Regions from separate parts of the Homo sapiens genome. Here region 2 is linked to region 1. Evidence: promoter capture Hi-C in 16 types of primary human blood cells and fetal thymus (Javierre and others, 2016). All regions are on one chromosome and are shown on one strand. The core of a region is centred on a gene start or on the middle of the fragment in contact, and the rest is flanking DNA. Distances in the headings are between cores, read along the strand shown. Region 1 holds the start of UMODL1-AS1 (UMODL1 antisense RNA 1). Region 2 has its middle 27 kb from the start of ZNF295-AS1.

Evidence for each region. Contacts are between HindIII fragments. The CHiCAGO score rates a contact against its expected background, and 5 or more counts as called.
Region 2: a fragment that was not itself captured here is called in contact with the fragment with the promoter of UMODL1-AS1 in region 1 in 1 of 17 cell types (M0 macrophages); the score reaches 5.3 in M0 macrophages.

What each region holds. Positions count from the first base shown.
Region 1 is chr21:42,104,563-42,111,561 of GRCh38, forward strand. UMODL1-AS1 (UMODL1 antisense RNA 1) reads right to left here and starts at 3,972. Exons shown (of 2, transcript NR_027243.1): 1 at 3,734-3,972. UMODL1 (uromodulin like 1) reads left to right here. Exons shown (of 23, transcript NM_001004416.3): 10 at 5,000-5,137; 11 at 6,318-6,559; 12 at 6,944-6,999. RefSeq lists an enhancer at 3,121-3,240 and a silencer at 3,217-3,511. The HindIII fragment of the contact is 14,881 bases long and covers 2,825-6,999 here.
Region 2 is chr21:41,978,616-41,984,956 of GRCh38, forward strand. No RefSeq gene overlaps it. Among named protein-coding and RNA genes, the nearest start is that of ZNF295-AS1, 27 kb to the right of the region's middle. The HindIII fragment of the contact is 4,309 bases long and covers 1,273-5,581 here.

The sequences.
Region 1 (6,999 bases), core at 2,722-5,221:
CCTCAGCTTCTCCAGTAGCTGGGATTATAGGCGCCTGCCACCACGCCTGGCTAATTTTTGTATTTTAAGTAGAGACAGGGTTTCACCGTGTTGGTCAGGCTGGTCTCGAACTCCTGACCTCAGGTGATCCACCTGCCTCAGCCTCCCAAGGTGCTGGGATTACAGGCGTGAGCCACCGCGCCCGGCCTCTGTGGGTCTATTTCATTACGCTGTGTGTTATTTCATTTTACTTGGTGTTGCCTTGAAGCAGGAGGTCATGGACACAGGACAGACACAAAGAGACAGAGAGATAAAGAGAGAGACAGAAAGGCACGGAGACCAGGTTCTTGCTGTCCTGCAGCAGGCACGGAGTTCTCTCCTGGCTGTGAGGGCACACACAGTCTCTAGATCCACAAGCTCCAGTTTTGGGCTCAATCTGTGGAGTGGGCACCTCTCTGGTCGTCTCCCGGGGTGCTGGGTCTTGGAGCTCAGCCACGTGCTGGCTTCCTGTCCCAACCTTCCCCCACCAGGAGGTGCCGGGAAGAACTGGGTTGGGTGTGGGGGGATCTACTCTTTGAAGTCATGCCTGGAAACCTCGGCCTGGGGTTACTCTGTTCACTTGGCACTCCCTAAGGATGGGGATACTACAGTGGCCCCTGTACCTGGTAAGATCCCACCTAGCTGGGCTGCAGGGTAGGGCCTGAGGTTGGGGTCCACAGGGTATGCCCCCAGCAGGGTCCTCAGTGTGTGACCCCGTGATCCAACCTTCAGGCGGATCCAGCCTTCAGGTGGATGCCACCCAGCCCGCCCTCCACACCTCCCTGCCTCCCTCCTCCCATCCTCTGGGACTAGGGCTCAGGCGATTCCAGATCCCTGCCAAATGAGAACCTCGGCAGCAGGGATGTCGTGGGTAGAATGGTGGCCCCCTCCAAAAAGATATGTTCACCTGGAACTTCAGAATGTGACCTTATTTAGAATAAGGGTGTTTGCAGACACGATTAAGTTAAGGATGTCAAGATGAGGTCCTCCTGCCGTTGGATTTGGGTTGGCCTGAAGTTCAGTGACAAGTGTTCTTATACGAGACAAGAGGAGGAGACACAGACACAGAGGCCAAGATTGGAGTGATGCAGCCACAAGCCAAAGGACTCCTGGAGCCACAAGATAAGACACTGGAAGAGGCCTGGGAAAGCCCCTTTCCTAGAGCCCCAGAGGGAGGGCGGCCCTGCTGACACCTGGAGTTTGGACTTCGCCTCCGGAACGGCGGGAATACATCTGTGCTGTTTCAGGCCCCCCAGCTGGTGTGTTTGTGATGGCAGCCACAGGAGACCCGTGTCTTGCACCTCTAGGACTGGATGAATCCATTGTAAGCATTCGCAGCACCCCACTCCCCACGCTGTTCAGTGGTCCTGCAGAAGTTATTAAGCTCCTTCTGCAGGCTCTTGCCCGGCAGGGTCCCGGGCAGGCTGTGGCCTGCTTCCTCCACATTTCAGAGCTGAGGTGCTGGTGCGGGCAGGTCTCCTGAGCTGGGGGGTCAGCTGTGTGGCCAGTGATGGTGACGCCTCAGGCCGTGCATGGCCGGGGAGGCGGCCCTGCCTCTGCACTCTTTTGACTCCATGACTACTGGTGTCTTCGGACGCCAGAGTCGGGGGAGCAACCATGGGGCACCGCCCCTGCCTGGGGAGGCAGCACGAGGCCTGAGCCCAGCTTACAGGGGGACATCCACCCCCGCTGAGAGCCCCACCTTCACGGCGAGGATCTGTAGAAGAAGACATTTGATATTACTCGGCAAAAAAAACAAGAAACGAAAACACAAAAAGAGCTCCTCTGAAGAAGAAAAGGTATTTGCGCTGTGGTCCACCTAGAAATAATGTTGTTGGCACAACTAGAGCATTCCTCAGTCATTCAGGAGCACTCCCTGCCGGTGCGTCCACATGTCCCAACCCCGATAGATGAGGCGCTGTTCGCCCGTGGAGGGGTCAGGTTGTCGTGACCTTATCTTTACCCTTAGGCCGTCCATCCCGGGGCCTGGGGTTTCCTGCGCCAGTCACGGTGGGCTGTGTAGGTGGCCATGTGTTCGGTCTTTCCCCAGGAGGTACGTACCATGTGCTGGGAGGCCTGGAGGCTGAGCCGCCCCCCGCGCCTATGAGTTGCACCCTCACAGCGGCGGCCAAACCTCCTGCTCACTTTGCCCCATAGGAAGAGGTTAGAGTGAGGCGGAACGGGTTGGAATCCCAGCTCTGACACTCACTCACTGTGGGATGCTGCACAAATGACTTCCTCTCCCTGGGCCTCAGTATACTCATCTGTGGAATGAGATTACAGCAACATCCCACCTCCTATGGCGATGGAGTAAATTAAGGCACAATGCCTGTGTGGGTTTAGCCCAGTGCCTGTGCATGGCGACAGTGCATTTCTGATGGCCCCTCCAGCGTTCAGGGCTAACTCTTCCAGGATTAACTTTCATATCTTGGATGAGAGCTCATCTAGGAAGGTCTCCTAGCAACCCCTGGGTTCCCACTGGTCCTTCCGCCTCACGGGGCTCCTTTTTGAACCCCTCACATCATTTCCATTCAATCTCTTGCTCCTAACAGCACGGCCCCTATTCCTTCTCTTTCCCAACATCTGCTCTCAGGAGAGATTCTCATACAGTGTGCATTTGTTCTAGAGTGAGGGTCATCACTGGGCTTCTATGAGGCACCGCTGTGAACCCTCTGCACCGACCTTAGCCAGAGGAGCAGGACTCCCACCGGCATCCTTCTGCGTAAGAGGCCTTGTGGGTCTTCTGGGGCTCTGGAATCAACGCCGCTTTTCCTGGGGCCAGAGTAGGTGGAGCTGAGCTCCCCAAAGCTTCCAGTTTGCTGCCTGCTCCCACCCGCCTCGCCACTGCGCGAGCCCTTTCCATCCCCTCTGCAGAGTGAGAGAAGGGCCGTGAGTGAGGATCCTGGCCTAGGGCTGTCACCATCCCCCTCACCTGCTGGCCAGGCTAACCTACTGCAGGCTGCTTCCTTTCCTTAGGTTCACGGGTACCGCTATTTGTCCAGCGTCCATTTGCGGTGGCATTAGGATGAGGTGCTCTGTGCCCTCTTTCTCCCAGTGTGAATCTGACACACGCCCCCAGGAGAGTCCGAGGGGCATCACTTCTGGAGGACGCCCTGGGCCCTGAAAGACAGCTCATGGTCCAACTGAGGAGCCTGCACCTTGCTGGGACAGGGTGGCCCAGGAGATCTGGGGTCTGTACCTGCTCCTGGACCCTCTCCAGCTTGTTGTTCTGGGTGGGGCCAGCTCAGGAGGGGCACCTGGGCTGGGAGTCTCTGAAGCAGCTGCCCCCATTGCTCCAGGAGAGGGCTCAGCCCTTGTCCCAGCTGCGGGGCCAGTGGGAGCAGTGTGCAGCGTCCTGCCCTGGGCTCTCGCTGGCTCTGCGCCCTCGCCTGGCCAGCCCGGGAGGGTGCAGAGGCTCACTGGCAGCTCTTCCTGCTCCCACACCTGCCTCTTCCTCTGAACTGGAGGGCCGGCAAGCCTCAAGGCTTAATGCAAGACTAAATACAGCTGTCAGCGCCTTCCTCTGAGCTCGCTTGGGAGCTGTCTGGGGGGACGGAGGAGTGAAGATTAGGTGAATCACCACGCCCCAAAATAGACATCAGGTGCTTGGTGGTTTGAGCCAGCGTCTTGCCTGGTGCCTCTGCTGTCCTCCGTGGACTGCAGCCCAGCCAGCCTAGGCTCCAACCCCAACCCGGAGCACCCCCAGGAGAGTTACCTGTAGGCTGGAGGTTGAGTAGCACCCCAGGAAGAGGTGTGGGTTGGCACCAGCAGTGTTCTGATGGCAAGGCAGCCCCCAGGCCATGCTAGGGTGGTGGCATAGCTGTTGTGGCAGCTGACGAGCTTGCTGTTCTCCAGGGAAGCTGCTTCTGTGGAGACCGCAGGAAGCACAACAGAAAAAAACCCACAAAACGAGCCTCAGAGCACTCAGCAGCAGGGTTTTCTTTGCCCAGAACTGAACTGGTCCTGCATCGTGGCTTAAATTCCACCTGAATTGGAACTTCTCTGGCATGCCGGGTGTGGGTTCGTTCCCGAGCACCTCCACCCGCAGCTCTACAGAAGCACGCGCAGAAGGCACTGTCACCTCCAGCAGGGCCTGGCCCTGACGACCTCGGCTCAGCCACCCCATGGGAGCTACATTGTCCTTGTCCTCACCTTCATTCCCCTCAGGCGGGCCCCCCGGTGACATGACATCACAAGTCTTTGGGCACAGGAGGAGGGACATACCTGTGGAGACACCCGGGTGCTCTAGAATATGGCGCGGGAAGTTCATGTTGTACTCCGCTGGACCCCACCCCCGGCGTGGGAAGTTCATGTTGTACTCAGGCTGACCCCCACCCCCCCCACGAGAGAAGTCCATGTTATACTCAGGCTGACCCCCACTCCTGGCATGTAAAGCTGGTGTTATGCTCAGCTGGACCCCCACCCCCGGTGTGGAAAGCTCATGTTATACTCCACTGGCCCCCACCCCCGGCGTGGAAAGCTGGTGTTATACTCCGCTGGACCCCCACCCCCGGCGTGGAAAGCTGGTGTTATACTCCGCTGGACCCCCACCCCCCATGCGGAAAGTTCACGTTATACTCAGCTGTGTCCCCACCCCTGGCTCAGTTACTTTCCTATTTCTTGGTTGAGACACTAAGTATTGGAGAATGTTGGCACATCAAAGAGAGAGGAGAAAACATTTCAAGTTTTGGGTGTGGAAACAGAATAAAGAAGAGAGGGCTACATGCACACCCATGGGTGCTAATATTTAAGGAATGAACATTTCCTAATCTTTGCCCCCAAATAAGCCAACCAATGTGAAGGTGGGCACAGGCAGGCCGTAAGGTTGTCATGAGAGTGTTGGACGGATGCCCCAAAATGCCCCTGCTCCCGGCCGTTCACTGCAAAGACGGCTAGGAAGGACTCCTTCCAGCATGGGTCTGTCTTCTGATCACTCTTTGGCTGTTTTCTCATGGGTTTTGATTGTGTCTCCCCCTGGCAGACTGGGACGAGTGTGTGGACAGCGCGGAACACGACTGCTCACCGGCTGCCTGGTGCATCAACCTGGAGGGCTCCTACACCTGCCAGTGCCGTACCACCAGGGACGCCACCCCCTCCCGCGCAGGCCGGGCCTGTGAGGGTACGTGTCGACCCCCCTGCCGACTCTGGGAAGACCCCCTGCCCGAGAATCTGGGGGTGGGGCAAAGCCCAATTCTCCATAGGCACAGGGCTGAGGACCTATGGTAATGTTAGGGGCCTACAGAAATGTTTTCATTTCAATTTATTTTAAAATCAGAAGAAAGAAATTAATAGAAGGATAGTAAATATACATAAAACAATGAATCTAGCTTGGATTACACTCATCTCTATCTAAATGCCATTATAAAATGTAATTTTTGATAGATTGTTAAGTGGAGGGGTGCAGGGGTCCATGAAGGCCAAGTTCCTTGGGCCCACAGAAGTCAGGATGCAGCCCGGGGTCGAGGGATTCCTTCCCCAGTGGCCTGGAGCCCGAGAGGGTGTGGCCTGGAGCCCGAGACAGTGTGGAAGCCCAGAGAAGCTGCAGAGAGGCCCGATGGGGGCCGCTGAGCTCTAGTCCTGCTGTATCGGCCCCCAGTCTTTTCTGTGGACCAGTTCTGATGAGTGGGTCGGGGATACCTGGGATGCTGAATTGAGCAGCAGGAGGAGGCCACGTAGGGACCTAAAATGCAGTGACTGATTAGCAATGTCGGCCCGGACACAGGCGTGGCAGAGGCGCCCAGCCACTGGCTTGCCAGCCCCTGCTGAGGGCTTTCTAGCTGGAAGGAGCAGCCGAGACCAGTTCCCTGGGGAGAATATTCCTTAGACACTGCGTGTGCTGTCCTGCTTCCTAACATCCCACACCTTGTCTTCTGTTTTTCTCATTCGCCTAATGTCCTGCAAGTCGATGACAGCATCCAGCACCAAGTCCCACATTGAGCACAAATCTGGGGGAAATTGTCCCATTTTCCCAGAGTCCTGATGGATTAATCTGAGGCCTATGAGAACCAAGCCCTGCATTCAAGCCCGGGTTTTGTAGCCCCCCGGGTGGATCCCTCACCCTCAACTTCAGTTTCCTCATTTATCCAGTGGAGAGGCGTGATTTGCCTTCAGAGAGCCCCGGGGAGGCTGCAAACATGGGCCCAGGAAACACTCCTGAACGCTGGCGCCCGCCTGCGTCCCTGGCCAGGTCCACTCCGGGATGCAGAGCAGTCCTGCTGGACGGCCATGCTGCCCTCCTGGGAGGGCTCTTACTCGTGGGTGGGATCCAGCAGGCTCTGACAGTGGATGTGTCTTGGCAGGTGACCTGGTGAGCCCCATGGGCGGTGGACTGTCTGCGGCAACAGGGGTAACGGTCCCAGGTCTTGGCACGGGAACAGCAGCCCTCGGCCTAGAGAACTTCACCTTGTCACCCAGTCCTGGGTACCCTCAGGGCACCCCGGCAGCAGGCCAGGCCTGGACCCCAGAGCCCTCACCCAGAAGAGGGGGCAGCAATGTGGTCGGGTATGACAGGAACAACACAGGAAAAGGCGTGGAGCAGGAGGTGCCCAGCACTGCCCCGGGTCTGGGGATGGACCAGGGGAGCCCCAGCCAGGTGAACCCCAGCCAGGGGAGCCCCAGCCAGGGGAGCCTCAGACAGGAGAGTACCAGCCAGGCGAGCCCCAGCCAGAGGAGCACCAGCCAGGGGAGCCCCAGCCAGGTGAACCCCAGCCAGCGGAGCACCAGCCACGCGAACTCCAGCCAGGGGAGCCCCAGCCAGGGGAGCCCCAGCCAGGAGAGCCCCAGCCAGGGGAGCACCAGCCAGGCGAGCCCCAGCCATAGGAACACTATCGGGGTGATAGGCACCACCTCCTCCCCGAAGGCTACTGGGTCAACCCACAGCTTCCCTCCTGGGGCCACAGATGGCCCACTGGCCCTCCCTGGACAGCTACAGGGAAACTCCATCATGGAGCCACCCTCCTGGCCTTCCCCTACTGAGGACCC
Region 2 (6,341 bases), core at 2,177-4,676, 130 kb before region 1:
CCAAAGTGCTGGGATTACAGGCGTGAGATAAACCAGGCCACGCTTACCTCATTTTCAATTCAGATAGCTGCTATATTTGATAATTTCTCTTGACCAACTGATGATCTCAAATCATTTTAAGTTCATATATTATTTTCAATATTAATAACATTAAGTATGAAGTATTTCAATAGCATTAAAAATTAAAGTGTCACTTGATTAAGAGATATTACAAGTGACAATCTCTCATTAACATTAAATATTATCAAATATTAATATTAAATAATACAAAATATTTACAGTTTTACTAACATTAAAATGATTTAACACTGGGAGGCTGAAGCAAGAGGGTCACTTGAACCCAAGAGTTCAAGGCTGAAATGTAGTAAGACTGCACCAGTGACTAGCCATTGCACTCCAGCTCAGGTGACATGGCAAGACCCTGTCTCTAAAAACAAATAAATAAATAAAATAATTTAAAATTTATCACTTCATTGCCTGGGGTCCTATTGCCTGGAGAACTATTGGTTTACATATTTTATCTGCTGTTTTAATTGTTTTAGGTAGGAAGGCATATGCTGTCTTTGTTACTCTATCTTGGTCAGAGCAGAAATCCCCCATAACTCTGAACTTTTCCTTCATATTTTCGATCCTGTCTTGGCTCATTCTGTGTAATTTTTTCCTGATATATCTGCTTCTTCATTAGTTCTCTGCAGTCATATGCAATCTATTCTTTAACTCATTCATTGAGATTTTTTACTTAAAACCTCTTTTCTTTTTTAGAAATTCCATTTGTTCCTTTCTCAAATCTGCCTGTTCAGTACTGATAGTGTCCAATTACTTGTCATCTTATTGTTTCATGTTTCATTTATTTAAACGTTTCATAAGTATCTGCTGTGTACCTGGCACATGACAGTGGTGATGTCAGCCGTCTCTGATGGTCTAGTTCTGTTGCTGGTTGTTTCTGCTGACTCTCATTCAAGGGGTTGCTTGCCTGCTCATGTGTTGAGTGTGAGCCCTTGGCTCGATCTGCTGGAATCATGAAAGTCTAAATTTGTGGTGCTTTCACAAATACAATTGTTGTTGGATTCACTGCAAACCACAGGTGTCACGGACTTGAAACCATGAGTTGGGGAACCCCAAGACCAACCCTGGGTTCAATGATTGGCTAGGAGGACTCACAGGACTTGGTAGAGAGTTGCACTGATGGGTGTGACTGATTACAGTAAAAGGACACAAGGCAAAATCAGCAAAGGAAAAAAAGGGCATGAAATCTGAAAGAAACCAGGAGCAAGCTTCCAAGAGCCCTCTCATAGTGAAGTCACACAGGATGCATTTAATTCCTTCAGGAACTACTTGTGGCAACATGAATGAGACATTGCCCCCAGGGAAGCTCGTTAGAGACTTGGTGCCAGGGTCGTTACTGGGGGCTAGTCATATAGGTGTCTTCTGCCCAGGACGCATCAACATTCCAGACTCTTGGAAGGAAAGCGGCTGTTCAGCATGAAGTGTATGGTTTGTACACGTTTAGGCGCAGTAAGCCACTGGGTTTATCAGGGACAGTGAGAACCTCCCCAAATCCAAGTTCCTAGATGCCAGGCAAGACCTAACCTTGCCTCCTCTCCCAGGAGAGCTGTGGTTACTCTTCTCTGTACACCTTGTCAGTCCCCACCCACCTTGCAGGGTCCCGATTCAATGTGGGTGTCACAGGCTCAACTCCCCTACTTTGTCAGTGTGCCCAGACAGTGACACTAGGAGTGTCCACCATCAGGTCACTGAGCTCTGCCTAGCTCAAGAGTTTTGTTGGCTTCTTGGAGGTAAGTTGAGGAAGGGCTTGGAAAACTCCCTACTCTTATAAGTCTGGCATTCATCAAAAAGTGTGTTTTGTCAAGAATCTGAGTGCTTCTCAGAGCACCTAATTCATCCTGTGTCAGCTATAAAAGCCCCTTATTTTTTAGAGGATAAAAAAAATGTCAATAAGAATTCATAGTCACAGTTATCCAGGCTAAAAAATACACATGAATGTTGGGAGGTTGTCATCCACTGGACAACTTTTCCAACAGAAACTTTAGAACCCCAAGTTTCCATTTATCTCTATTGGAATCTGTTTCTCCCTGCTGGCTGCATGCCTGCTTCATTTCTTCCTTTAATCAGGGCCAACTTATTCATTAGGCACAGGAGACAAAGTGCTTAGAGCCCCTGGCACTTTTAAGGAACCATAAATTTTTTTTAATGGACCACAATGTTTTAGTTTATTTTAAAATCAGAAGGAAAAAAATGAGTTGTTAGGGGTTGAAGAAAAGTTTATTTTTAATACAGCTTGGATTATATTTGCCCTTATATCAATGTAGTTGCAAAATATGACTTTGTATATATTTTGTGGAGGAAGTGTGTCCCCAAAGTGTCTAGGGCCCACAAGAGTTATGATGCGACCCTGCCTTCATGGTATTAAAAAAAAAAAAAAAAACTAAAACCACTTACTGGGGACATAATATGCTCCTAGACCTGTGTCCTAGCATTGGCAATGGAAATATGGTTATTCCAAATAACAGAAATAACAGAATTTCCAAATTGTATAAATTTTAATATTTTTCCTGAGCTCTGGTAACTCTTCAACTATAACTCTTTGGATCATCAAGTAAGTTTCCAGCGAAAGAGCTTTAGCTCCTCAATTATTGGTAGCCTTTTCTTAGTGACAGGCTAGAGATTTTTCCAAACTATTCACTCTGACAAATCAGGAAAAGCTCCCACTCAATGTTTCTAAAATAATATGGCTGTGTAGGGGCTAGACATGAAGCCTAACACTTCTTAGAGGACCAACAGCAGTTGATGTAAATCATTTTATTTAAAGGGCTAGTAAGTTATTTTGTACTTAATGCTTTCACCTAACAACAAGTCAGACAGACATGTTATTTTTATAACATCAAACTTATACATTATTCAGTAATCTATCTTTGGTCTTTGGTTTTGTGAACAGAAACTGGCTCTTTTGTTCCATGAACTCCACTTGGAAACCCAACTTTCATGCCCGTGAAAACCTACTTTTAAATAATAATGGGGACCCTCAGAACAAAATCTCTGCTTCCTTACACACCAATTTCTGTTTCAAGTGGTAGAAATAAAGTTTGCATCCTAACTTCCTGATGTCTTTATCACATGAGAGAAAAGATCTAGTGTTTCTGCCATTTTAACTACATATCATCGGTCACCAAAAACACTGAGAACCCAAAGCAATGGCTCTTCCTCCAGCCATCAAGCTGGACACCACCCCAGCCTGGTTTTGTAGAGTCCATCCTTGCCACCCAGGTCATCTGAAGACCTGGCCAAGGGAAAGGGCTAATGGCAGATTATGACCCATTATCAGCTTATAAAATCCACATACTGGATTGTGACCAAGGTTTTTCACTGTGAATGAATAAAATAGGCAGATTTACTGTGAAGCTGAAGTTCCAGGTGCCTCAGTTGTCAGGAAATTTCCAGGTCATAAATATCTCACTATTTTATAATTTGTAATATTTTATGGCTTTGTAAAACTGTGACCGTGCATATACCAAACAGGAGAGAGATGCCTGTCTCTTTCCATCCTGACCTTCTCTCCCATAATTTCTTTCATGATGGTTGCTGCTAAAGTGACCATAGGCTTTTTCAGACCTGACTAAAGGTGAGTTGAGGAGGAGATAAAGTTCATCTGAATTTAGTGAGATGTGTGTAATTTTTTTTTTAAGTTTGAGAAAATCTCTACTGAGTTCTTTCATAAATAAGCTGCTTAGAATTTGGGAGAATTTTCCACTGGCAAACTTCTGGCATAGCATCCCCAGACATACAGGGCTAGGTGCTTTAGGACATATTAGCTAACTTATCCATGACAAAATAACAAGTTCATTTCCACTTCTGGGCAAGATGAAATCATAGAGCCTTGATTTTCCATCTTGCGTGAAATGACTAAATTCCAGACAAAGCATATGAGTGATTTTCAAAACACTGAACATAAGGCAACAAAGAACAGTGATCACCGGGAGATGAGAAAGAGATGGGATAAACCAGCAGTGTTCCTGAGTTGAGGAGATGGAGCTGGGAGTCCAGGAAGGGAAAGGCGGCTAGGGTTCTAAGCATAGTGTGCTGGAAAAGGGAAAGCCTGAGAGTGAGCGAGCGCGCGCGCGAATGAACAAGAACGAACTCTGGAGGTCTGCAGAGAGGTCCCTTGACTCTTCAACATGTAAGGAAACTTCTTGAAGCTGGTTAAAAAAAAAAAGCAAACAAACAAAAAAACTCAACAAAACACATAAGCATTAGAAGGAACAATCCCTGGAGTTCATACAGTGCTTGAAGTAATTCAAGGGCATTGAGTACAGGGGGTGTACTTGCCTCAGTAACGGAACAAAATTAGCCCGCATTTAAATTCTGCTCTGATCCCATTTAATACCATTTAAAAGCAAAACCTGGATAAAATGGTTTCCAAGTAAGTTAATTACATCCCCCCAATAAAGCTCCAGAATATTTATAGAAATACAAAAACAACCAGCACCCATGGGGTAAAGTTCACAATGTCTGCAATTCAACAAAACATTACCAGACATGCCAAGAGGAAACAAAAAGGTACCCAGAATGAGGAGAAAAATACATCAATTTAAAACAAACCTAGAAATGGAGTAGATGATAGAATTAGTAGTCAAGGACATTATAAAGGTGTTCTAACTGTATCCCATATGGTAAAGAAGCCGGAGAAAAGATGGAATGTGTTAAGTAGATACATAGAATATATACCTAAAATTCAAATCAAACTTCTAGAGATGAAAACTACACATCTGAAATGAAAAATACACCAGATGGCATCAGTGGCAGATTAGACATTGCAGCAGGTTAGTGAACTAGAAGACATAACAATAGAAACTATCCAAAAGGAAACACAGAGAAAAAAGAGAACAATGCACCAGAACAATAGTGATTTCTGAGACAATTTCAAATGGCCTAATATAAGGTCATGCATCCTAATCAAATTGCATAAAACTGGTAATAAAGAGAACTTTAAAAAAGCAGCCAGAGTAAAAAAGACATACTGTATACAGAGGAACAAAGGTAAGGACAGCAGGATTTCTCACTGGAAATAAAGCTAGAAACAGTGAGCAACATATTTTAAGCACCACAAGAAAAAAAAGCTATCTAGAATTCCATGCCCATCAAAAATAGCTTTCAAGGTTGGCAAAATAAATATTTTTTAGATATACCTGAGCTGAAAGAACCCAGCATCAGTAGACCTACACTAAAAGAAATGTTAATGTCTTTTGAGCAGAAGTAAAATGATATCACAGGAAACTTGAATCTGCAGGCAAAATAATGAGTACCAGAAATGGAAACTTACATAGGTAACTATAAAGACTTTTTTTAATTAAATATCTTTAAAAGACAATTGACCATTTAAAGCAAAAATAATAACAATGTATTTTGGAGCTTATTACATATACAAAAATAAAATGGCTGGTTTCAGGGCTCTGGCAGGGAAAGAGGGAGATGAGTCTGGAACATCTTGTTGTGCCAGAAATTAAGAAAAAAAAACCTCAGGCTCTTTAAGCATTTTTCTTACTTTGCTGAGAGGATATGTCAAAGCTTGCAGCAGCCTGGTCTGAAACTCCTACTAAATTTAGGATAATTTGAACATCAAAAAAATAAAAAAGGTGGCAACTGATTAGAAACCATTGAACAGAATAGGAATCTATGAATCCACAACACATACACATGTAAATTAGTAAGTTAATGGGAATTACAGAACATTTTTTTCCTTGCAGTAGAAAGCCCACAAATAAATGAAGAGGGAACGATGGATGAGAAAACCTCCATTTGGCAACAACTGTAAAAATAAATTAATTCAGGCAAGGAACATCAAGAGATGCTAAAATTAGTGGGTAGAATTGAGATGAGGAGTAGAATTTTACATAGTCTCAAAATATCTCCCCACAAAATACTTATTAACTACAAATGGGGGCAAACATAGTGGAGACGTTGGCAGAAGTCCACCTTAGTCAAAGGATTAAAATGAATGCCATCAGCAACAGGGCATACAGGCATCAGATGCCATCCATAGGTTGAAATGAAGAGAATAGAGCTTCTGTATATTTTGACCCCAAAACGCATAGTGATGGTCCAGTCATGAGGAAGCATGGGACAAACTCCAAGTAAGAAACACTCTACAAAATGACTGGTTCACAGTCTTCCAAATGATCAAGGCCAAAAAAGCCAGAGAGAATAAGGAATATTCCAGACTGCAGGAGACTGGGATACCTGAGAATGGGGAATGGGAGTAAAAAGAAAAACAAGTCTGTTAATGGTTTACAAATACCACCACACACCTGTACAGTGCTTCACAC